Regions from separate parts of the Homo sapiens genome. Here all the other regions are linked to region 6. The links are contacts of gene promoters, found by promoter capture Hi-C in blood cells and fetal thymus (Javierre and others, 2016). All regions are on one chromosome and are shown on one strand. The core of a region is centred on a gene start or on the middle of the fragment in contact, and the rest is flanking DNA. Distances in the headings are between cores, read along the strand shown. Region 1 overlaps SLC9A9 (solute carrier family 9 member A9). Region 2 overlaps SLC9A9 (solute carrier family 9 member A9). Region 3 overlaps SLC9A9 (solute carrier family 9 member A9). Region 4 overlaps DIPK2A (divergent protein kinase domain 2A). Region 5 overlaps SLC9A9 (solute carrier family 9 member A9). Region 6 holds the start of U2SURP (U2 snRNP associated SURP domain containing). Region 7 overlaps SLC9A9 (solute carrier family 9 member A9).

Region 1 (3,397 bases), core at 805-3,304, 770 kb before region 6:
ATTCTATCTTTGGTCTACTGATACTTGCATATTCAGGCTTTAAGTATGTGGTTTTTGATCCCCTTAGAGAGGGGGTTCTAATCTAACTGATCTCAGCAGGTACGGTTCTCTCTAGTGTTAGGCTTGAGACCTGGAGTCCATTACAAAAATCAGCAGTGGGATTGGGAAATCCAACTCCAGGCTACCTATTCCTATGCCAGGTGAAGACAAAGGTTCGTGGTGGAGCACTACTGTGGGATTAGAGAAGCCAGAAAAGCTGAGGAGAAAATGAACGGAGGAGGCAACCGAGCAGTTGAGGCGAAGCAGACAGGGTCCCAAAGGGGCAGGGGAGCGCACTGGGTCATTTTCACCCAGCTGTGGTGTGGGCTTGTAGAGATAGTGCCAGGTCAATTTGAAAGGTTCCAAATAGGCCAATGAATATATGTATAATATAAAACTTTTTAGAATTGAAAGATATTACAATGTATAGTTCAACTTTTGATTCTCCAACATCATCTTACTTTTTTCCTTGTTATAAGTTATAGTATATGATACACATAATAACGTAAGAGCTAACACTTCCAGGCTACTCTGTCTTATGCTCTAAGCACTCTGCATATACAAATCCAGTCAGTCCTCACACGCACCCTAAGAAGTGGGCAGTGTTGTTGCCTTTAATTTACCTATGAGGAGACTGAAGCCCAGAAGGAGTAAGTGCCATCCCAAACATCACATGGCAAATGGGAAGAGCTGGGATTTGAACCCAAGCCGTCTGGCTTCAACCTGTGTCCCTAAACAGTACTCAGTGCCGGTATGAAGTTAGGTAGCATAATAATAAATCAAACTCCTGGAAAGCCCTGACTCAACTTCAAAAATAAAATATATCACTGGGCCCAGTAAAGGCGCTCCCACACACCTTTCCCAGACATCCCTTTTAGTTGAGTCAAGTCCCGAAAGGTGACGTGGTTGGCCTGTAGTTATTATATCTTGCTGAGTTTAAAATCCAACTGTTCAATTATATGGATGCTACGTAGTAGCATAAGTACATAAATAGATGTTTACTAGTTCACTGATTATTTATTGAGGGCAATAAAATAGAATTTTGCCTTATATGCATTTTTGGCTTTTTGTTTTAAATTATCCCCTTATTTGATGTTAAATAAACACATCTGTTATTGCATTTGCATTTGAAAAACTTTTAGGCTGTAATAGTCACTCATTAACTAATGAACTAATTAATTCACCAACATTTGTAAAACCCCTACTGAGTGGCAATCACCATGCTAGAGACAGGGATGCAATGAACCTCACACTGGAAATGGCTTGTACCACTCATGAGACCTAATGGTTAATGTTTCAGGAACTTTGTGAACAAGCCATCAAACACAACCATTGTTAAAAATTAGGGCCAGGTGTGGTGGCTTATGCCTATAATCCCAGAACTTTGGGAGGCCGAGGTGGGCAGATCACCTGAAGTCAGGAGTTCGAGACCAGCCTGACCAGCATGGTGAAACCCCGTCTCTACTAAACATACAAAATTAGCTGGGCATGGTGGAGCATGCCTTTAATCTCAGCTACTTGGGAGGCTGAGGCAGGAGAATTGCTTGAACCCAGGGGGCAGAGGTTGCAGTGAGCCAAGATCGCGCCATTGCACTCCAGCCTGGGCAACAAAAGCAAAACCCCATTTCAAAAAAAAAAAAAGAAAAAGTAAAAATTAGATTACATAAACATACCAACATATAAATTATATTAAAAACAAAGTTAACAAATACTAAAAACTCATAGCTTCCCAATTTTTTTCTATATTTTATTATTAATCATGCTCTTGAGGTTGTGTACATGTATTGTAGCTATATGGTGGAAATGCAACTTAAGAATGTGCTACTGAACATCTCTTCCCAACTCCATGTCCAGAGACCTCATTGCTAGCTTGAAATTGGCCATTGTGTGAGTACTTACTCCATGGACATTTACAAATGCTACAAATCAGGGCTTTTCCCCCCAAAAAGCCACTTATTAAACGTTTAGCACCACAACACTAGTTACAGTGAAGATTAATATACAACCTCTAGCAAAATACAATTATTGATCTAATGGGACCAGTAATTTGAACAATGCATACATCAAAAAAAATGTTTTAAAGGCTGAACAAAACTATCAACTCCACCATGATTTCCAACAATGATCTTCTGTATAGAATTTTGCATCTCATTCAGTTCAGCTCTGATTTTGGTTATTTCTTTTCTCCTGTGTCCAACCATGACCACTTAAAGTTTCATCCTTAACATAGTTAAAATCAACCCAATTTCCATGTTTTCTAAAGTTGTCAGTGTTCTCTGAAATCTGCAGATGGAAATGGAGAGCTGATATGACGCTTCTGAAATTGGCATCATCCAGGTGGGACTTTTGGGCAGTAGCGTCTATAACGTTTCCAATCACAGCTCTGTGACCTGTTTTTCACAAACCGGACTTGGGGCAACCACTCAGCTTATTAATCAGCACCTCACAATAGCTGTCATGTCTCTTCTTTAAGGTGAAAAGGCATCTGCGGTATTTATCTAAGAGTGTTTAAGTGCTATGGTAGTGGCTACAGTTCCTTCCCGGACCAGCTTGTGCTTCATCTAGGCAGAGAAAATTCTCAGAAACATCCATGGAGTCTCTGGGCTTCCATGATGAATTACACATGATTTAACCTGGAATTTGAGGCACTTCTAACTAGAACCTTCCTTCCCAAATATCTGTACTTGAATACATTTTAATCCTCAAGCCTGAGTGTACTAGAACAAATTTTTTTACTTTTTTCTGTAACTAAAATTATTTTCTGTTTTGATGCTTTACTATGCTGGGTAACTGAAACTAAGTCTCTTTCCCTGGGACCGTGTCCAATTCCTGGAGGCCTTGGAGCACGAAGGTGTCACAGACAGAGCCCTCTGCTCTTGGTTGTTAGTTGGGTACGCTGATTCACAGAGGTGATATACTCTGGATTTCAAGCATGTGTCCACACACTTCACTTCTACACCCTTGCTTGTCCTGGCAGCAAAGTAGCACCAGGGATGCCAGCAGGCTGGGGCATGTCTGTGCCACTCTCAGGCAGTGGGAAGCATTCTGCTCACCCCCCTCCCATTGTCCAATACACACACACACACACACACACACACACACACACATTCTGGGGATGCTCTGAGGCTGTCTTGGACTCATCTGCCCAGCCGCAGCTCAGCAGACCCTCTGACCGTCCTGAGCATTTCCTCCTCTGTCCTCCTGCTCAACCTGGAGGAGACCTGGAAAGGGGACTTCTTCTTCTTCTCCATCCCCTCAAGAATGAGATGTGGTCCCTTCTCCACCCCCTGGGAAATGAGACAAGGAGGTGAAGTCCTCTGCTTCCTGCCTCCAGGTAATGACAAGAGGAGAAAAGAGC
Region 2 (3,519 bases), core at 69-2,568, 750 kb before region 6:
AGTAAGGCAGAGCTACAGCCTGGAGGCAGATGTGAGCTTTCTAAAAGCAGAGCAAAACTTCTTGGAGCCATTCTGCTCCAAGGGAGTGGGGAGAGAGGAGTGAAGGTCTGAACTTCAAATAAGTGTAAATAAAGCATTCCTCCTGCTCTGATTTTAATCTTTTCATTGGCTGCTTTCTGGGATGGAGTACCTAAGTGAGTGGATTTGCCTACTTACTCAATAAATCAAAGCTTTTCAGAATAGGATCATCAATAGGGACTCCTTACGCCAGGAAACTGTAATTGGAGGTAAATATTAATTCCAGAGGAAGGCCTTTGAGCCCAATAAGTGCAACAACAATATGTCTCTAAGGAGCCACTTCTTTTCTTTTCCATATCCATTGGAAGCAGATTATGGGAGCAAAGCTTATCTCCCATTTTTATCCATTTTAACAATGTTCTACCTACTGCTAAACTGAGCTGCCTTAAGCTCAGTACAAAGCCCTTTTCAGAGCATCTAACGGATAACTTAAAAAAAAAAAAAAAAACCTTTTCACATAGCTCTCCTGGTACCCTTTCAAGAGTTGCGGCTCTGTGCAGGCAGCCAGACTTGTGCTGGCTTTTGGGGACAAAAGCACACCAAGTATTATAACTACACTCATTATTTTAAGTTGCCGCCATACTCCTGCTCCTACCTTCTTTCTTTCTTGCAATGTTCACCCTTACCTCCCTTGAGATGGGCAGACCTATGGAGGCCGCTATGCTTTTTCTTTGTTCACTGGTCAGGAAAGCACAGTGAGCATCTCTTGTGTTAAATCGTCTCAGCTTTATCAGGCAACGGTGCCTAAAACTTACGGTCTCATCTGGAGACTTACTAGGCTGCCTGTGGCTAATACGATAAAAAAGAGAATTCAAAACAGGTGGAATGGGGGCCAGATGTTTCTAGAAGCCTGTGAATAGTTTGTTTCCATATCACCAGAGATAAAGGTGGACTGCTGTTCTCTCTGCTAATGAGAGAGATCTCTGGAATCTCATTTTCTTTCCACATAAGGATGGGGTGGTGTGCACTCTGCTGCTGCAGCTGAGGAGATTTCTGAGAACTCTGTGGTTTATTTTAAAATCTCTCAACATCACTTTGAAGTAAGTCTACTTTGAAGTAACTCTGAACCTGTTTCTGAAGAGTTTGATGTGTGTCTGAAAGGCGATTTCAGTAGTCCTCTCCTCCCAGCCCTGGTTCTTCCCTCTCCCCAGCTGCCATGTTGGCCTGAACAGGTTTTCTTACAGTCAGCCTCACTGAGGATGCCCCAGGCCCTGGCCCAGAATCACACTCCACTCAACGCAGTGCTGAGGAGAAAGGCAAACATTGCCTATTTCATTTGAGTCTTCGCTGTGGTCTGCTTCTCCCTGTACCCCCAGCTGCTTTCTTTCACTTCCTTTCAGCATTTGCCTGTTGATGCCATGTCTGCCCGATCTTGAGTAGTGTCATACTATTTACTTCCTGTCATCCCTCTCACAGATAGGCTCCCTTGGAAGCCAACCCTGAAGCAGAGGTTCTTGTGCACAGATTAGGGAGTGCTTTTGGGATCAGACCTGTGGAAAGAAGCGGTGGGAGGTAGGAGGGTGCAGAGGAAGTTGAACTACAATGCAGCCCCTCACCAAAGCCCCAGCTGACCCCAAGGAGTGGGGACTCTGGAGTCAGGATGGCCCTTCAGAGCTGTCTAAACTGGCACAGGAGACCAGGTCTTCATATGTTTATAGCATCGGATGTCTCTGGAAAGCAGCATGCCCTCCAGGAAAGATAGCTTCCTTCAACCAAGGAAATCCCCATAGGGAGCTCAGAGCTAAGGGCCCTCTTTGCCGCAGTGGGGGGAATAAATTCTACATCTTCAAAGGGAGATGAAGGCTAGGCATCATATCATCCACCACCAACAATTAGGTGGATCTGCAGGTAACCTCCTCCTGGTGGTTTTAAGGTGAGATACTTAGAGAAGGTGATGCCTTCAGAGAGTCTGCAACCTTTTCTCCACACAGCATGAGCCTGTTTAGACAGCAGCAAGAGCTGCACTCTTGACTCGCCCTGCAATATCAAACTATGGTCCCAGTTAGCCTGGCTTCCAAAACAGAACTGCCCATGAACAATGACTTCCTATCTCCTTGAAGCAGCATCTGATGTGCATCTTCTCCAGCAGCCCTGAAAACTGGTTCTGCCAGCTGGAGAGGGGAGAGCCAGCATTTAGACTCAACAGGAAGCTTGGATTTCAACAGAGAAAAAATACATAAATATTTATCTAATCACATAATTAAAGGAAATCTACTGCCCCATACAGTTGCAATCTAAATAACCCACTTCATTAAAATGCAGATGTTCTTGCGAAATTCTTTAAAATTTTTTCAAAAGGTTCTTTCCTCCATGGGTTTGTTTTTTAAAAGAAGAGACAAATATTTGTTATAAATATATAAGATATATAATTATATATGTATATATATATATATAGATATATATTTAACAGCATTTTGTTTTTACTCTGTACCCTCTTCCCATTTGACTATACAATATTATCAGTTATTAGTACTCAACAAGGATATTACCAAATGACATCATAAAACATTTTCATCTTTCACCATTACAGGACAGCAGGCAGATTTGTCTACACAGGTGAGGGAAATGGAGAGCTGAATTATTCAGTGAATTTGATTAATGTTTATGTCAGAGCAGGAACAAATGTATCAGTAATGGGAAGTTCAATTAGTGCTTTAATTAATTAGGTTCCTGTTTTTAGCTCTATTGTGAAAGATAATTATTTGTTAGCTTTGCTTAGGACCTGGGCTAAGGCCTTGATTACAGGTATTAAAAAATATAATGCAAGAGAATTGGGGCTCTGAAGAAACTTAAAGCTTGTGACAATAGAAAATGCCAGTGAAAATTCAAGCACATTGTCATTTACTGGAGTCATTAAAGCCTCCACTGAAAGTTAGAACAAAGTTCAAAATAAATGATTTTAACTGAAGTTAGAATTGTAAGGCCCTTTTGGTGCATTGTCTTCCTCTTCCACGGGAATTTAGGGCCACTTTTAACTGCTGTATCAAGACAATACGGCATTATGCATTTAACCAGGAAGCTGACTTTAGAGTCTCTTTCTCTCTGTCTCTTTCTCTGTGTCTGCCCGGAGCTTTTATTTTTACAATGATAAACCTATTCGCAAATAAGGATCATGGAGGCTTAATCTTATAACAAAAAATGGAGTAGTATCTGCAGGAGAGCCTGCGTAATTTAGATTTCTCCCCCTACTCACTGGTAGAGTTTAATCATATCCGAAAGGCACAGTGATTTAAGTGCCTGAGCATCTGCATATAGACTTTCCTTTTGTTCCTGATTTTAGTCTAGCCCGCAGTTCTCAAACTTCAGTGTGTACAAAGATTTCCATATAGGAATATACTCTTGAAACCGGGATAACTGTACCTCATGGACCAATTAAGAGAATTTCAAGGGCAATTTAAACTCTCTGAGAATTGTAAGAAGCAGAACAACTATTGAACCACT
Region 3 (3,259 bases), core at 733-3,232, 680 kb before region 6:
TTATTTTTATGAGATTGAATTAATATGTCTGAGATTTGCTTTCTAAAATCTCTCCTCCCAGTCTCATTTTTCTGCTTTGATGCATAATAACCTATAAACTACTTTATACCCAAGCTTCAGAAATAAAAGAGGGTAAATATCTATATGATTCAAATATCATATATGTGCCATTTAAACCACAAATACTGTAGCCTCTGACTTGGGGACAGTGGATTAAATAAACTCCTGCCCAAATGTCTCAATTGTATTCTTTTTGTAAGAATATAAATAAGTTCTTAAGCCTGACAATCTCAGCATTGTTTTTGAAACACCCATTACTGTTTTCTCTTATGTAACATGTCACAGGTTCAAGAAACTTGGTATTTATATTACGTTAGCATGGTTTCAAAGTGTGTTGACACATTTAATGTTCCTAAATTGGGTAGACTCAATATGAAAAGTAAATACTTATCTAAAATGAGTAAAGGGAGACAACCTGCATAGCCAGCTGGAAAATACAGTCCATGATTTTTTTCATCAAGTTCAGATTTTAAAAATCTATTTGATGTAAATTATTAGTTCAGTTCTCTCACCAAACAAGGCAAAATACACAAGTGCTTAATAGGATCTATTTCTTTATCTGTATCATCATCAACACTAGATAATATTTAATGACTAGATCATCACAGATGCTTCACAATATAAAAGGCCCATTGAGTTCTGCACAGTACATAATAAATACTTATCAAATAAATAGAGCAGTCATTGAATATTAAGAACACTGTTCGTGGTGTGGGACAGTCATGTTTAAATCTTCATTTTATCTGACTCACTTGGCCTCAGTTACTCCAAATATAAAATGGGACTATAAGGTTTATTTTAAAGGTTCTTGATAAGGATTAAATAAGATAATATGTCTTATTTTTATTGTTATGTTGTCATCATTATTTTTATGCTGCACTAAGATGGGGCTGCTATTTTTCCATCAGTATAATACAGTGAGACATGTATATTTTTGCTTGTTTTCATGATAATAATGAATTTCCATGATTCTTCCTACCTGGTTAGTTCTCCCGTGACCAACTATATTCATTTGTGAGTTGCCTGGTTAAAGTTGGGAGTGTAATATATGTAATGTGATAATTTTGCTTTGAATAAAACACAAATATACTTTGACATCTATTCTTATAGATGAGAGGTCATAATTTTTAAAAGCAAATCTCAGACATTATCATTTTACCCCTATGTACTTTGGTACCCATCTCTAAGATGAAGGACATGGTTCTTACATGTCGTGACGGCACTATCCAACCTGAAAATTGTTCCATAATCCATTGGTATTATCTAATAACCAATCCACACTGAAATTTTCCCGATTTTTGCCCTTTGCCTTTGATAACTCAAACAGGTTTCACAAGTGATATTTAGTTGTCTCTTCTCTGCGTTCTCCTTTAATCTACAGCAGTGCTCCTTCCTACCTTTTTTAAAAATGCTATTATTGAGAAAATTGGGTCAGTTCTACAAGATGTACCACATTCTGGATTTGTCACTTCCCATAGTATCATTTAATTGTTCCTATATCCTCATATTTCTGTAAGTGAAAGTTAGCTTCAGAGAGTCCTGATTACTTAGATTCGAATTCCTCAGTTTTTGCAAGAATGTTCAATAGGCGATGCTTGATCGATCACGTTGCATCATATTAGAAGTCACACAATCACTTTTAGTTTAAGCTGCTACTTATTTCATCTAAATGGAATGTACAGAACTTATCGCCACCCTTGGTCAAATAATGCACCCATAAATAAACTACCCTTTTAAACATATAATTTTAAACATAACCACAATTCCATCATCACACCTAAAACATTAATAGTAAATTTCATGGTAGGCAAAATAATGGCCCTCCAAAGATGCCCATACCTTAATCTTTAGAACCTGTGAATATATTACCTTAAATAGCAAAAAGGGATTTACAAGATTAATTAAATTAAGGACCTTGAAATGTGGAGATTACCCTGGATTATCTGAATGGGCCCAGTTTAATCACATGGGTCTCTGAAAGTTGCAGAACTTTTCCTGGCTGCAATCAGAGGAAGATGTGGCTATAAAAGAAAAGGGCAGAAAGATATAATGTTGCTGACTTTGAAGATGGAGGAAGGGGGCTAAGAGCCCAGAAATTTTGGTGGCCTCTGGAAGTTGGAAAGGGCAAAGAAACTGATTATCCTCTTGTGCCTACAGAAAGAAATGCAGCTCTGCTACCCTAATTTGATATAACTGAGACATGTGTTGAACTTCTAATATACAGAAATATAAGATAATAAATTTGCATTATTTTAAGCCACTAAGTTTGTTATAATTTATTACAACAAAAATGACAAACTAATATAATGTTAAATATTATAAAATATATAGTTTAGTTAAAATTTCTCAACTTATACAAATTTTTATAGCTGCTTTCATTGATCCAGACAATGTATGCACAATGCTTTTAGATATAAAATGAATGATTTAAAATAATAAAATTGTAGGATACTTTTGTGGAAAGAGCTACTTCCTTTAATTTACCACCCTTGTTTTATAAAAGAGCAAACTAAGGTTTAGAGGTGAGTGACTTGGCCCTAGGAGAGTCATTTCAAAACTTAACATTACAATCACTTTAAAAAAATTCATGAAGGTCAGCAGTGGATTCTGGGAAAGTAGTGACTTTAACTTGGCTTTCTTGCCCTTTATTACTGTAATTTATCTGATTTTCCTAAGGCAAAGAGGAGTTGGTTCCTATATGCAGCTGAGTCCTGGTGAAGCCTTGAGCTTTATGCAAACCCTACAGAAATAACAGATAGTGAGCTTTCTCTACAATGAGTAGCATGAGCCTCTAGATACCAGTTTCAAACAAGTCTTTAGATGGAGACTGGAAAGCTATGAATCCTGAAAAGTGGTTTGGGTTGTGGAAATCTGTGGACGTTGGTGGTAGGAAGGTGGTAGTAGTTGACATTAGCCTGCATGAGTGAATTTGATTCTTTGGTTACTGGGTAAGGGACCTATCTCCTCCAGGTACCTGAAGGGTAGCCCACCTGCTTCTCCATCACTGGCCTATCTTCTGCCACTCAGAGGACTGCTATCACAGAAGGTAGTCCAACAAACAGTCTTAAACTCCAAAAAGCTGACAAAGAAAGATAAAAGCACATCAAGACTTTTCAGCAGCCTGAGGGAGGAAGACTGGTCAGAATAAACAGAGCACACACCCAGGAAATAAATTCCTGAAATAGTCAGAATATAATTT
Region 4 (3,495 bases), core at 700-3,199, 980 kb before region 6:
GTACTAAATAGAATTACTAAACTATAATAATGATTTACAGAGAAAAAAAGAAACTATTTGCCTTTTACTTCTTAATCCTTATCTAAACCGTCTTTCCTACCATATTCATTCTATTCATTACACTTCATATGAGACAAATCCCTAATCCCCTTTTAAACTACTATTTTTAAAAAACTATAGCCTGAATAGGTACATATGATTTACGTATATGTAAGGACAGTGACATTTGAATGTCTGCAATAAGAAAAGTAGGATTTTTACATTTCTAAGACAGACATCAGCATAATGTACTAAAGAACTTTTAACTACTATAGCTGTCTAAAAATGGAATAAGCTGATTTTCAAAGAAATAATACACTGTAAAAAGCTTTACAACTGAAAACATTTAACAGATATTACTTGAATAATCCTTTCTTCTTTAATCTTTAAAACAATCCTGTTAGGTAAGTATTAACAACCCCATTTTACTGATTAAAAAAACTTAGAATCGGAAACATTAAGTGACTTGCTCAATACCATCCAACAACTTTGTGGTAATACAGAATGTGAAATGGATGCTCTATCAATACTGCCCCCTCCACCCTTCCTCCCACTCTCCACCCCCATCTATTGGCAAAATCTCTGAAACTTTCCCTGGTACCATTCCTATCAATATACAATGAGATGTCCCTCCCTGAGTCATGTGACAGTATATATATATATATATATAGATATATATATATCTATATATAGATATATATATATATATATAGATATATATATATATATAGATATAGATATATATATATAGATAGATAGATAGATATAGATACCTTTTGTACAGGGCTTATTAAATGGATTGTATAATAATTAGTTATTTGTGTACCTACCTCCTACATAGTAAGCTACTTGTTTCCTACGGCCATCTTTCCATCCTTTCAATCCAAATGCCTTGTAACAGATTGTAAAATGAACAGACAAATTCAGTTCTTTTGGTTATAAATTCAAAGAGCTCTCAAGAATTTCACAGACAACTTCCTATCACCTTATACTAACCTCACCTTACACTAATAATTTTCAGTCATGTTACAACCATTTACTAAAGTTCATCAAATGTATTAGAAAAATGCAGGATTTAAATTATAAGGCCATAATTTAACATATGGGTAATGAGTGAAAGCTGAAGAAAGAAAAAAATAGCATTCTGTGAAGAGTCAGCAGCAATGACAGAAAAATAGGAAGTAAGCCAGAGCCCACAAACCAAAAAAACAGAATAAAAACCAGTCTGACAATCCCCTGAGAAGCTGGACACCCATGTCCAGAAGACCTATAAAAACAAGCTTTCTATTTCCCAACATGTGTGAGAATATGTGCTAACCTATGCAATGGAAATATAAAGAATAGTTCAAAGACTAGACAAAAGTATACAAAGGACAAAATTCAAAATGGTCAAAAGATATGGATATGTCCAGAAACTAGTCCAGGATGTCAAATGACTTTGCTCTACTGATTCTGAAGTGATGCTTTCTTAAGGGCGATTGTCTGTTTCTAGGGTCTTTCTAAAATAAAAGTCCCCACCCCCTTTTTGGACTTGAGGTATCCAAAATTGTTTTATTATTTTTGTTTGATTATCTTGAAGAGCAATCAAAAGTGTCAATGGACTCTCAGATGAAAAGCCACAAAAAGTTCAAAAACTTACAAAATTTATTAGATTAAAAACTGCTCTACTAAGAACCATCTCTAATGTGTTCTGAAGCCGAAATCTAGGAAGACAGTTACTAAAGAAACAGCCAGTAAAGGAGAAGTAGGTGGTTCCTTAAACTGTTGTTTGAAAAGAAACTCCTGAAACAAAGTCTGGAACATCGTTTTGCACACTATTGCCTCACAAGATCCTTGGCTACCCTTAACTCCACATATTTCCCCTTAAAGGAAGGTTTTGGTTTTTGTTTTATTTCATGTGTGTAAAAATTTGGGGGTAGGAAGAAAGGCTTGAAAGAGAGCATCCCACTCCCAATCCCCTTTCAGAAGAGCTTAATTAAACCCACTCGTTAAAGTTCAAAAGAAAACAACAACAACAACAACAACAATAAAAACCAAATTTCTCAAGAGTTTGAAAGCCCCAGAATGTTGGAGCTGAAAAGGATCTAATCCAATAGCTTCATTTTATAAAGAAGGAAGTGAGTCCAATAGTAAAAATCTATCAACTTTTCTAAAGTACCGTTAGCTAAATAATCTTTTGTTTACTTCAAAAACTACATTTTCACCAGTGAACTTAAAAAATATGTTGTTCCCTATATAAATTACTTTTAAAGGCAAAAACAACATTCACTGAAAGTTTTCTACAAAAAATTATATCAAAGTAATAATGGAAAAAAATCAGTATAACTAAAGTATGGTTGATATTCAAAATCACCATTATTTTTAAGGTGATCCATACCCCAAATGAGCTTCAAAACAGCTGATCAAATGCACCAGGCAGTTAAAGTTACCTTTACTTTATTCAATATCTAACATTTATTGAATGCTTACAATTTACCAGATACTACGTGAAGTGCTTTGCATGTATTATATCATTTATAAGAATAGAAAAGCAAGCTTAAAAACCATAGCTTAATGATAGTCATATACTATAAAAATAAAGTAAATCCTATTAAAACCATGATTCAGAAAATTTAAGGCAAATGAAGTTCCACAAATAGTAACATTCCCAGCTCGTCCCCCTAAACAACAAAGAGCTTTCTCCATTTCCTACAAACAAGACCATCTTCACTACTTCCAGGTTATAAAGTCAGAGATTCTGTCTGAACTTCAACAAATCCAGACAGCATCTCTCTCTCTCTCTCTCTCTCTCTCTCTCACACACACACACACACACACACACTCTCCCTTTCTGTAAATTCAATAGGTTAAATACAAATACGATGGAAAATTTATCAACAATAACTTGTGATCTTGCCAATTACTTCAACAACTCAATTTTTGAATACTTCAAGATTCCTATTTACACAATATAAAAGTCAACATAGTTCCTCTCCTCCATTTTTTTTTTCATAGGATTACAGTATACCTGGCACTAAAATACACACATCTTAGTGAAGTAAAAATGTGACGACGAGGAAAGGGTATCAGAGTAGAAGATAAAGGTACTACTAGCATTATCTTGTTGCTTGATGTTTATAAACATTTTTTAGAAGATAATAATTCTATGGGTAAACTGTTGTAAACTAGTGAAACTATCCAACAATAAGAAGAAAGCCATACTCTCATGCCATTTCATATGGGGAAATTTATATCACAAATCTTTACAGCCTTACATAGATAAGGTATGTGTGTAAACATCTTAGACACTTAATGTCTTTCACCTCTCCTTTCAAGGAATAATAGCAACTTCAATTTTTTACTGTTTTTTCAAATCAGAAGAGGTGAGTTTAATGGATTAAATTCGTAAGTATTTTTCAGTTCTTAAACACCTTATCAAAAGAAATTTTTACATGCTTATTTTGAAGCATGCTTACG
Region 5 (3,283 bases), core at 723-3,222, 710 kb before region 6:
ATTTTGGCGTTTGACGTACTAGTAATGGGAAGTCATAAAAGGGTTTTGAGCATGGAAATATATGGTCAGATTTGTGTTTTAAAATAACCATTCTGGCTACACATTGGTGGGAAGTGAGATACAGGGAGACTGTTTCAACAGCTAGAGAAATATCCAGAAGAGATATATTAGACTGGACTCGATAATGCCTGAATTTGAAACCAATTCAAAATGTAAAATGGCAGTTTAACACCGGATCACATAAGGTGAGGAGGTAGGGATGTGTCCAGAATGACTTCAGTTTTCTGGGTGGGAATTGGTGCCTTCATGAAGAAAAGAGACACTGGAATAATGCCAGGGTTCTGGATAAGAGCCTTTGTTCAGACTTACAGGTGGTGAGTTTGAGGTACCTGCAGGTCCTCCTCAAAGCCAGAAAAGGATCCTTCGTGTTAAATGTGATAGAGAGGCTGCTAGACTTTCTGTATGGTCATCTGGGAAAGCAAAATGAGTTGTGTCCCAATTCGGAGGAGTTAAATGAGTTTTGCAAATGCCACCTTCTATGTCCTGGGAAGGTTGAGTTTTTCGACACAGACAAGAATAACTTCATCTGTTGTCATTCTAATCGCAAACTGAGAATTTGTGAAGAAGCCACAGTCAAGTTTGGAAAAATAGTGCTGGTTAACAAAATCAGTATCCAGTGCCAGATTTTGAGTGCTGTCAACCTTTTTAAAATTTTTGCTTTGATAACTGACTAAATGCTAGAAAATATTGTTAATTATACATTTTCCCATCTTCCTCTTACAGTCTCTGCTTTTATTTCTTCCTTCAGCTTTTTATAAAACCATAAAGTTTTAGTTTGAAATCACCTTAAAAGTTATCTCGTTTTATTTCCCAAATTTGCTCCCTCAAGTACACCTGTATGTGTTTTTTGTTTGTTTATTTTGTCCTACTTCCCCCTGACCATGGCAAGAACAATACATGTACCTGTTTTCTGTTATATGGAACAAATCAATATCCCTTTCACAGAATACTTAAGGAATGTTTAAATTTCTTCAGGGAAGGAGGCTCACTACTTCTCACAATCATCCATTTCTACTGCATTCTTTGGACAATTTTTCAATAAGCTGCTCTGACTCTTTGTAATATCCACCTCTTTTTGTTCCCCTGCCTTTCTAGAGCAACATAGATTAAATCCTTTTTCTTTCTTCCTTATGACCACCCTCCAGTTCTAAACTCTGGATACCATGTTCCTTCTTGGGTTTCTCCCAGCCAGCAAACACAGCCCTACAACTCTTACCCACCTAACATGTTTCTAACCTCCAGTATCTTAGGAGGCATTTTCCAAACAGGGTGTTTTGAACAAGAAACTGTGTTAGCTGAGATCCGGCCAATGTTGAATACACTGAATTTAGTATGTCCCAAGGTCTGCACAATAAGCTTCCATTGATACAGTTCTCTTCCCTCCATCCTACCACTCCTTTTGCGAAAAATCTGCCTTCTCTTTTCATCTTCTCTTGTCACTTCACTGAGTCTTGGGGATTTTGTGTTGTTTGAATAATTTTCTGATGTGAAGGATTAAACCTGTTGAGCTATTTGTGACTTCCTGGAAAGCTTGCCTTTACCATCTTCTGTTTGGGTTCTTCCTCTACTTTCTTCAGGGGGATCTGAGATTAAATGTGGTGGTGGATGGTGTTGGGAGAAGTGGTCACTTTGATACACACCTGAGACAAAACCACCCATAAATTCCCAAGATCCAATACAAAGAACCATTTAAAGGAGTAATCTCTTCCCAACAAGGTCTTGGCAATTTTCTGTAGTGCAATTAGATTTTTAAAAAACACACATATGTTTCTTTGTTGAAAACAGCTTACTAAAGGCTTTTCTTGACAGCTTCCACATTGAAGCCTTTCTCAACTCACTGGTTCTTTGAGGGAGATGGCTAATGCTAAGTCATCTTTTGTGTTTCCCAAAGAAAGTAATAGCTGGAAGAACTAAAGAATCCATTGAGTCATTCAGTAGTGATTATCTGGTAACAATACTAAAGGAGGACATTATGCCCATTTTATGGACAAAAAATGGAGGAAAAGAAGAAACAGCTAACTTGCCTAGGGTCAAAGAGCTAGAAAATGGCCTTCTACACTGGATTGTAATAGTTTGTTTACTTCTCTGTTACCCCCGGTAGATTGCTCGTTATCTTTTTTCATTCTATGCCAAGCAACTGGCCAAGGTGCTGGGCATATATTAGTCACTCAATTAACAGTCTATTATATAGCTTAATAAACTTAATTCTTTCCTCTTCCTCTGAACCTCAGTTTCATAAAGGAAGAGGCACCTATTCTTTCTGTGCTGCATCCTCAAAGATCAAATCAAGCTTGATAATAGCAGGTGCTTTTTTCCCCAGAGAAGTAGAGTTGTTAAGAAATCACATCATCAACTGTTGGGCCATTTATTATTCTTGACCCTCATTTGCAGATGGTTCATGAAACCATCTGTAAATAAAGGCCAAGTTCTGCCTTACAACTGAATTCAAAGCCTGCTCAACTCAAATCAAATGGGGACTTGCAGAACGGTGTACGTTTCAGTTCAGTGCTAACAGTGTAAAGCCAGTCCATATATCGAGGTGATAGGGATTAGTGGGTAGGTTGCAGGGCCATAGATGAAGAGTAAGTTATAACAATTCTCTGGTATTGAATAGAGCAGATAACTAGGTGATTGTCAGAAATATTTCCGTAGATTGTTCAGAATTAGCCCCATGTAGCTCTAGCCCTGGAGTTTGGTCAGTTAGTATTATGTCAGAGACACTTGTGAATAACAAGCCTTAGCAAATCAAATTACCTTCCTTAACGGATACTTCTGTTGCTGGAGTGGTGAGAAACAGGAGTAGTGATCTCAAAGCTCAGGATCTATAAGGAAATAATTATAAGAGTAAACGTTTTGGCCTGGAGCTGTGGCTCATGCCTATAATCCCAGCACTTTGGGAGGCCAGGAGGCCATAGTGGGAAGGGTCACTTGAGCCTAGGAATTCAAGACCAACCTGGGCAAGATGCTGAGTCCTCTTCTTTAAAAAAAAAAAAAAAAAAATTTTTTTTTTAAATTAGCCAGGTGTGGTGGCACTCACCTGTAGTCCCAGCTACTCAGGAGGCTAAGACAGCAGGAGACCTTGAGCCCAGGAGAAGGAGGCTGCGAGCACCACCGCACTCCAGCCTAAGTGACAGAGTGAGACCCTGTCTCTAAGAAAAAAATTCTTTTTAATTTTTTTTAAAAGAGTAAACCTTCTATTGTTCTTTAAAGCATTTTGGTGGTT
Region 6 (3,292 bases), core at 168-2,667:
CGGTATGTTCTTGTCAGGAGTCTGTTGAGAAGAGTTGGTAGAGCTCGCCCCCAAAGAGAGGGAGACGAGAAAATGTACTGAGGAGGGGGAAAAAAAACTGACACAATACCTTGTAAAGAAGCCGAAACTGGCCCCTCACCAAAGTTTCTATGTAACTAAACGATGTCTGTTAAGACCATTACTAATTATGAATTAATTATTTTGGTGTACATCGTTCACCAAATGGCATAAACAGTCGGATTAGAGAAAGCAAGTAGAAAACGAGTTATGATGTTTCTCAGAACTGTAAACGCAAGCTTCTCTCCTACCGTAAATTTAACTTTCTAATAGCCGATTTACAGTCACACACTCTTTAAGATTTAACAGTCCCTAGCACCTGAAAGTGTTACACAGCTTCTTGCATCAGCATCGGAAAGTTTAACTACCTCGTGGCAGTACCAATTACTTTTAATATATTCGAGACCAGAAACCCAAACCAAAAAACGATTAAATGTCCCGCCCAAGATGGCAACTAAGAACCCAACCGTACTAATGCTTAACTACTACCACAGCTCACTGGTTTCACAATACGTGCCCAGGGTTCCCTGTAAACACAAATGCAATTTACTAATCGTATGTAGCTTACAAGTCTACGGAGCTTCTCTTTTCACTGTTTCTTCAACATAAAGAAAGAGACCACGAGTCCTCTACCCTCAAAAGTGCTTTTTACTTCCCGTTAAGGTAAAGACCACGTGTAGACTGTACATTAACCTTGGCTATGCAGCACTGCAAAGGAGAGCTGCTCCCGCCTCTGCATTTCCCACTCCGTGTCTTTGCCCTAGTGGTCCTCCCCTCACAGCTGGCGACCCTAGAGGTTATTCATTCCTTGGAGGGAAACTGAGGGAGGCCGGAAGTGAGTGAGATCCAAAACCGAGAAAAAAGCAGCAGACATTTAAGCACCGGGAAGCGATTCCCGCCTCTCTCCCAGGCGCTGTCTGGCGGCCTCAGGGCGCAGGAAGCTGAGATACAGGAGAGCGTTTTCACTGCTTCAGACCTCAATCTGAATTCCTGATTTCACTCCAATGCCAAGCGCGGGCCGAAGCACTCACGCCTCCACCCACTGGGCACGCCAGTCTCGAGCTGAATCCCGGCTGGGACTATGGGGAGATACCAGGCCTCTCAACCTGCGCACAACGGTGCGGCGGCGCCCGGGCCTACCGTCGCGACTAGAATGCAGACCCCAATCCCAATCGCCTCTCACAGGCCAGAAGCGTCTGTGGGCCCCAAACGACAGTGGTAGATCCGCTGACTTACGAAATTTTGTCAGAAATTACCTTTGAACTGGCCTTCTGAGATCCGCCTGGCGTTTTGTCCGCCATCTTGAGCTTTGCCCCTCCTTCGGCGGCGGCAGCAGCACGGGCGAGTCGAGCACCGAAAGAGCGGATCTCAGTGAAGCCCGCCAGAGGCGCCTGCAAGGCTGAATAGTCGACTGTCGAGATAGCGACCTTAGGGGCAGCCGCTCACGTGACTTCCGGTGTCAGTAATTTCCTCAGCCGCGCTCACTCCGCTAGTTTTCCTGGGAGTCACGGTGCTTGGTCGCGTTATTGGGTCCGGGAATTCAGAGAATCAGGGCCAGCTGATACTTCACCCTCTTATCCCAACGCCAACCCTTGATAGATGCGAACCAGTCGTATTTCCTTTGTGGGAAAGGAGTCGCTTTTTAAAGACGTGCACTGGCCATCTAGGGAGGAGCTTTTACTTCAACTCAAAATAGGACTGGAGCTGACTGGTGACCTGGCGCTCGATGGACGGAAACGCTGTTCTTGCCGCTTCGGCAGCTCCCATACTGGTGGGAGAGGCAAACTTGCAGTCTGCTCATCTTAAGATGGTGAATGTTGAGATAGGGTTGCTCCCGAAAAGCCGAGAAGAGGAGCCGTTTGACCCAACTTGAGGGTGATCCGATAGACACTCTTTAGGGCGTCTGCAGAGTGGGTGCGCGTGGAGACAGTCAATAAGAGAAAATCGTAAATACAGATGGTATTCTAAATCTAGCATGCATGTAAAGTTGTGTGACATTTTAAAGATTACATTTTACACTTTAGTATTGTTTTCATTTTTAATCACATAAATGGGGGAACACCATATTAAACTTTTCTGAACTTAGTACTTTTTTAAAAAGTTCTTAATCAGGGCCTAGATTCAAAGACGGAAAGCTTGCTTGAGAAGGCCATGCCCGAATCAGGCCAGGCAAGGAAAGAAAGGACATTCCAGACAGAGGGAGTAATTGAGGTAAAAGCCTGTGGCATGAATCAGTACAGCCGATCGTGCAGGTCACCTAAAGCAGTCGTTTTATTAGACCAGGTGTGGGGAGGGACGTGGTTGGACAGGGGTGCGGGTGCAGGTTCACACAGCGCCCTGAGGTCACCATCGTGCTTAGGAGTTAGAATTCTGTTCTCAGAATGAAGATCGGCCTTTAACAAGGTTGAAATGGTCAGATTTTTATTTTAAAGTATTGCTCTGAGGACTAGGGTGGGAGTGGAGGGCGTTTGTGGACCTCTCCCTAAATCATTTATTCAAAATATTTTTGAGCCCCGTTTTGTGTGTAAAAGCCTGCCCAAAGTGTTGTAGGGCTTACAGAGACAGACAAACATGCACTGTCTTCATATGATTTAAAACTTAATGAGAAATGGAGGAGACAAGGAAACCGCAAACTGACACTATGCATAATTAAATTGATGCTGCAAGGAAGGATCAATAGCTGAGGGACCTCTGAAAGAAGTAATTAATTCTGAGAGTAGGAGTGAGGAAAAGAGACGGGGCGGGGCAGGGGGGGGGGTGGTCATAGAGAAGAAAGCATTTGAACCAGCTCTGAAGAAGTAGAATTTTGTTGAATGGCGGGGGTGGGGAGCGAGGGAAGCACTTAGAACAGGATCTGACACAAGGCTGGCTCTCAAGAAAGATTAACAGACATATATGCCAGCCACTAAGGAATCAGCAGGCCAGGCCTCCTATTCTCTGTGAGGGTATGAGGGTAGAAGAACAGACAGTAAACAAGAAATGATCTGAAAGTGACAAGTGCTACACATGAAATTAGAATGACTTGCACCCTCCAACCCAATTCAATTTACTTCTACTGCTGGATTCTGTCATACTTTTTCAGTTCTGGGCCTCTTCCCTCAACCTTGCCCTGCCCTCTCATTGAAGTCTAATCCAATTCTACTCTGGGTGAAGATGTCCCTTCCTCCAGGAAGGCTTACAGTCCTCCCTCCCCACCAATCCTAAATCAGAGACCCTTCTGTTTCCAAGGAACCTA
Region 7 (3,401 bases), core at 102-2,601, 840 kb before region 6:
AAACTACCCAGATTTAATAGATTGCCAACCTTTATTAGAGGGAAAGATTTCTTCACATCCCTGAATTTGATTGAACTATGACTCATTTACCAAGTTCAATGGTGGGGATATTGTTTTCGTAAAAGTTTTGATAACCTACTAAAATTCAGTCATGTTTTGCATTCACAATACATACAGTAACTCTTACTTTTGAATCTGAAAAATTCCAGGTTACCTTTAATCCTGCAAAACTCTCTGAAATATTTTTAAATTGTGCTTGAAATAATAAAATAGTAGTTCATTGACCACTGCTATTGAGGTAGCATTTCTCTAAATTGCTGTTCTTAAGGCAGATAAAGGCTTAAAGTTTATGAGTGGAATTAAGTTGGGTTCTCTGATTCCTATTCTTCTTTCATGAGTTTTTTAAAGTAAAAGTTATTGAAAGCAAATTCTGAACCAGTGCAATGTAAAAGGATTATAAAAATTATGGAGATATGCATATATATGTATTCTCTTACTAGAAATTTTGAGTATCTTTCAGTTATCTTGAACTATATAGATCAATGAAAAGACATATTTTAGTGATGTTTAACTTTTTCTTGGCATAGAATCATAATTGTTAGGATGTCAAAGAATTTTAGAGGTTATCTTCTCTATCCCCTTTATTTTAGAGAGGCAGAAGCTGAATCCCAGAGAAGTGAAGGGACTTTCCAAAACTGAATAGCCACTCATGACTGGTCCATGTGCTTTCACTCATCTGCATGTCTTACTAAGGTTCACGTTCACCTGAAAGAACTCTCCCTGTGTTTTCTGAAAGTACTCCATATGGGTGGCATTCATGACTTGTCACATTTCTTCTTCAGGGATGTCCTAAATGTTATATCTTAAATGCTTATTAGGAACTTTCTATCAGTAATGTAATAAAATAGTCTGAAACTACACCAGAGGAACATGATGGGATACTGTAGTAAACACTTTTTAATGATAGGGGAAAGGAGATGCCAAGTGAATTAATTGTCCAACAGCTATAAATGAACTTGGAATCATAGATGGGGAAGGAGCCTTAAAGATCATAAATCCAGCATTCTCATTTTGCAGACAAACAAATGAAGACTTAGAGAGATAAAAGTCGTGTAATTAGTTAGCTGTTGAGGTGGGATTCAACCTCCATCTCTTTAATAAGAGATGCTAAGATATTTAAAAATAAGTAAATTATTGCAATAATTTTCCTGGAGAAAGGATGTGTCTGTGGGATCTAGATGCATCCTCATATGGTTAAGCTTTCAGGATTAGCCAGATTCTCTTTTCCAGGAGGTCTAAAAGAGTGAATTTTCAGCATCCCACATTGTACTATCCCCCTTTCCATTAAAGGATTAAACTCTTAGCTTTTGCAAGAGCAGGGGGGCATGGTGATAACTAATGGGGAAGAAAAGAAACAAAACTATGTTTAAAACTTAAGCTTTTTGAGCTATGATTGTGCCACTTCACTCCAGCCTTCACTCGAGCCTAGGTGACAGAGTGAGACTGTGTCAGAAAGAAAGAAAGAAAGAAAGAAAGAAAGAAAGAAAGAAAGAAAGAAAGAAAGAAAGAAAGAAAGAAAGAAAGAAAGAGAAAGAAAGTTAAACTTTTAAAATTTCTTGTTCTTAAGGAAGTGAACATTTGAGAGTAGACTGTAACAGTCATCTCCGTGCTACAGACACATATGCTTGTAATGAAATATATTTTAAGATTTAGTGGACCTGCACCTAATGCTTATCAATGAATTTGGCTAGCAACTCCCCTACTCCACCGAGTACTGTTCTTGCTCTCACTATTTGTATAATGTATTACTTGTCCTGTATCAAGAATGATAAATGTTTTTCCCCAGCATCAAATTTCCTATAATACTTCAGCCTATTCTGCCATCTGCTTTTCTGCCAGTATTCCTTTGACATGTGTCAAATGTTCTTTAGAAGACTCGATAGATGTTGAGTCTATTTTATCAATGTACCTGAGAGTCCAATTTAAAAATTCTAGAGAACAGGGGCTTAGAAAACAAGCAGTTTAAAAAATGCAGAGAAAAGTGATCAAGCAGAATGTTTAATGTTCTTTTATATTTCTTGTTAGAAATAATTTTCAAGTTGCTAATCTTAAAATATCATATGAACACTTGTAGAGACCAAGAAAAATTGTGTGGCATTTGGCTAGACTCTGTGTCAATCAGAGATTCATATGATACTCCAAATAGTATAAATAATCCATTATATAAAAAATAGGTTTTTCTTATTATTAAGGGTCATAGGAAGCTTATAAAAATTAGTGGCAGCTTTATAACCATATTTTTGCTTCACCAGGAACAGTAATGGGTAATCTATTATGATATTCGATGGTTCTCATTTCAAAATTGAAGGATTAGAATCCATAACTGGTTTAAAATATAAGCCATAATGATACTCATTTAAATTGGACTGGAAGCATAAATGACAATTAGCGGTTAAAGTATTGATTGACAGCAGCTGGTGCACTTAGTACCACTCACTTAGGGCCTGTATCCCCTGTTCAGTGCTCATAAAAGAAATTTGCTCCTTGCTCCCTGACAGCATTAAGAATTCCATTATATATCACTGGGGGCTGCCATACTTTACAGGACATTTATAATCCTGTGCATTTGAGGGCTGGGATCTGAGCTTAGGGACAGAGCAATTTAAACCTCTTAGAATTCTGCCTTTGACTTCCTGGCCTTCCCATAGAAGTTAGTCTGAATTCATGTAAAAATTGTGGCCACTGTTTAGTGGGCACATAACAAATTTCAAGGCACTAAGTTTACATTTTGAATTCATTAAACTATATCATATTAAAGCGTTTTCAGATTCTTTAAGAATGTGCTTAACAGTTAAGTAGGACAAATTTAATTCACTCAACACCAAGTTTTTCAAGATTTAAAGAAAATACAGTTACATAGTGAATCATCAAGGATTGAAAAATTATCTTTTCTGAAAAATCTTCTGCAGGCATTAATTTCTTCCTAGCACTCCCTGCAGGTTCCTCAGGATTAAATTGGGTTGTTGGACATGTTGGCTACACCCTCCTGATCCATTTTACCCTCCTCCAGGACAGCCCAGCCTCCCTGACTGCCAGGCCTATGGGAGATGCTTCCTACTACTTCACCCCCTTCCCGCTGGCTGAAGGTCCTTCCAAGGCTCTACTTATTCCACTGTGGCTTTTTTTATAGAGAAAATATTGATGTGCTCCCCTGGAGATTTAAGTTTCTTAATCTTGATGATTTTTTTTTCAGTAGCTAGATGCATTATTTTGGGCAAGTGATGTTACATCTGGCCTTATTTTTCTCATCTATAAAATGGGGAAGAAAGGAACAGATATCACATGTCTCCCTTCCAGCTGCAAAAGTCCTTCAAAATTCAGGCCAAGACTGAGTTCAACCA

The links. Contacts are between HindIII fragments. The CHiCAGO score rates a contact against its expected background, and 5 or more counts as called.
Region 1: a fragment that was not itself captured here is called in contact with the fragment with the promoter of U2SURP in region 6 in 3 of 17 cell types (naive CD4 T cells, fetal thymus and total B cells); the score reaches 6.2 in naive CD4 T cells.
Region 2: a contact is called between a fragment that was not itself captured here and the fragment with the promoter of U2SURP in region 6, in 8 of 17 cell types (naive CD4 T cells, fetal thymus, non-activated CD4 T cells and 5 more). The highest score is 14.6, in naive CD4 T cells.
Region 3: a contact is called between a fragment that was not itself captured here and the fragment with the promoter of U2SURP in region 6, in 2 of 17 cell types (naive B cells and M2 macrophages). The highest score is 8.1, in naive B cells.
Region 4: a fragment that was not itself captured here is called in contact with the fragment with the promoter of U2SURP in region 6 in 6 of 17 cell types (non-activated CD4 T cells, fetal thymus, activated CD4 T cells and 3 more); the score reaches 8.8 in non-activated CD4 T cells.
Region 5: a fragment that was not itself captured here is called in contact with the fragment with the promoter of U2SURP in region 6 in 1 of 17 cell types (naive B cells); the score reaches 7.4 in naive B cells.
Region 7: a contact is called between a fragment that was not itself captured here and the fragment with the promoter of U2SURP in region 6, in 1 of 17 cell types (total B cells). The highest score is 5.5, in total B cells.

What each region holds. Positions count from the first base shown.
Region 1 is chr3:143,771,772-143,775,168 of GRCh38, reverse strand. The region is part of intron 4 of SLC9A9 (solute carrier family 9 member A9); the gene reads left to right. Among named protein-coding and RNA genes, the nearest start is that of SLC9A9, 75 kb to the left of the region's middle. The HindIII fragment of the contact is 8,302 bases long and covers 1-3,397 here.
Region 2 is chr3:143,749,687-143,753,205 of GRCh38, reverse strand. All of the region lies in intron 4 of SLC9A9 (solute carrier family 9 member A9), which reads left to right. Among named protein-coding and RNA genes, the nearest start is that of SLC9A9, 97 kb to the left of the region's middle. RefSeq lists enhancers at 1,021-1,140, 1,201-1,550. The HindIII fragment of the contact is 1,824 bases long and covers 407-2,230 here.
Region 3 is chr3:143,681,642-143,684,900 of GRCh38, reverse strand. The region is part of intron 5 of SLC9A9 (solute carrier family 9 member A9); the gene reads left to right. Among named protein-coding and RNA genes, the nearest start is that of SLC9A9, 170 kb to the left of the region's middle. The HindIII fragment of the contact is 3,732 bases long and covers 117-3,259 here.
Region 4 is chr3:143,975,897-143,979,391 of GRCh38, reverse strand. The region is part of intron 1 of DIPK2A (divergent protein kinase domain 2A); the gene reads right to left. Among named protein-coding and RNA genes, the nearest start is that of DIPK2A, 5.8 kb to the right of the region's middle. The HindIII fragment of the contact is 1,255 bases long and covers 1,322-2,576 here.
Region 5 is chr3:143,711,357-143,714,639 of GRCh38, reverse strand. The region is part of intron 4 of SLC9A9 (solute carrier family 9 member A9); the gene reads left to right. Among named protein-coding and RNA genes, the nearest start is that of SLC9A9, 140 kb to the left of the region's middle. The HindIII fragment of the contact is 760 bases long and covers 1,593-2,352 here.
Region 6 is chr3:142,999,695-143,002,986 of GRCh38, reverse strand. It overlaps U2SURP (U2 snRNP associated SURP domain containing), which reads right to left and starts at 1,417. Exons shown (of 28, transcript NM_001080415.2): 1 at 1,314-1,417. The coding sequence starts at 1,358. It overlaps PAQR9-AS1 (PAQR9 antisense RNA 1), which reads right to left. Exons shown (of 5, transcript NR_125393.1): 5 at 1,897-1,960. LOC100289361 (a long non-coding RNA gene) reads left to right here and starts at 1,520. Exons shown (of 1, transcript NR_034032.1): 1 at 1,520-2,142. RefSeq lists enhancers at 1,056-1,705, 980-1,979, 2,979-3,292. The HindIII fragment of the contact is 1,896 bases long and covers 299-2,194 here.
Region 7 is chr3:143,842,900-143,846,300 of GRCh38, reverse strand. The region is part of intron 1 of SLC9A9 (solute carrier family 9 member A9); the gene reads left to right. Among named protein-coding and RNA genes, the nearest start is that of SLC9A9, 3.9 kb to the left of the region's middle. The HindIII fragment of the contact is 179 bases long and covers 1,262-1,440 here.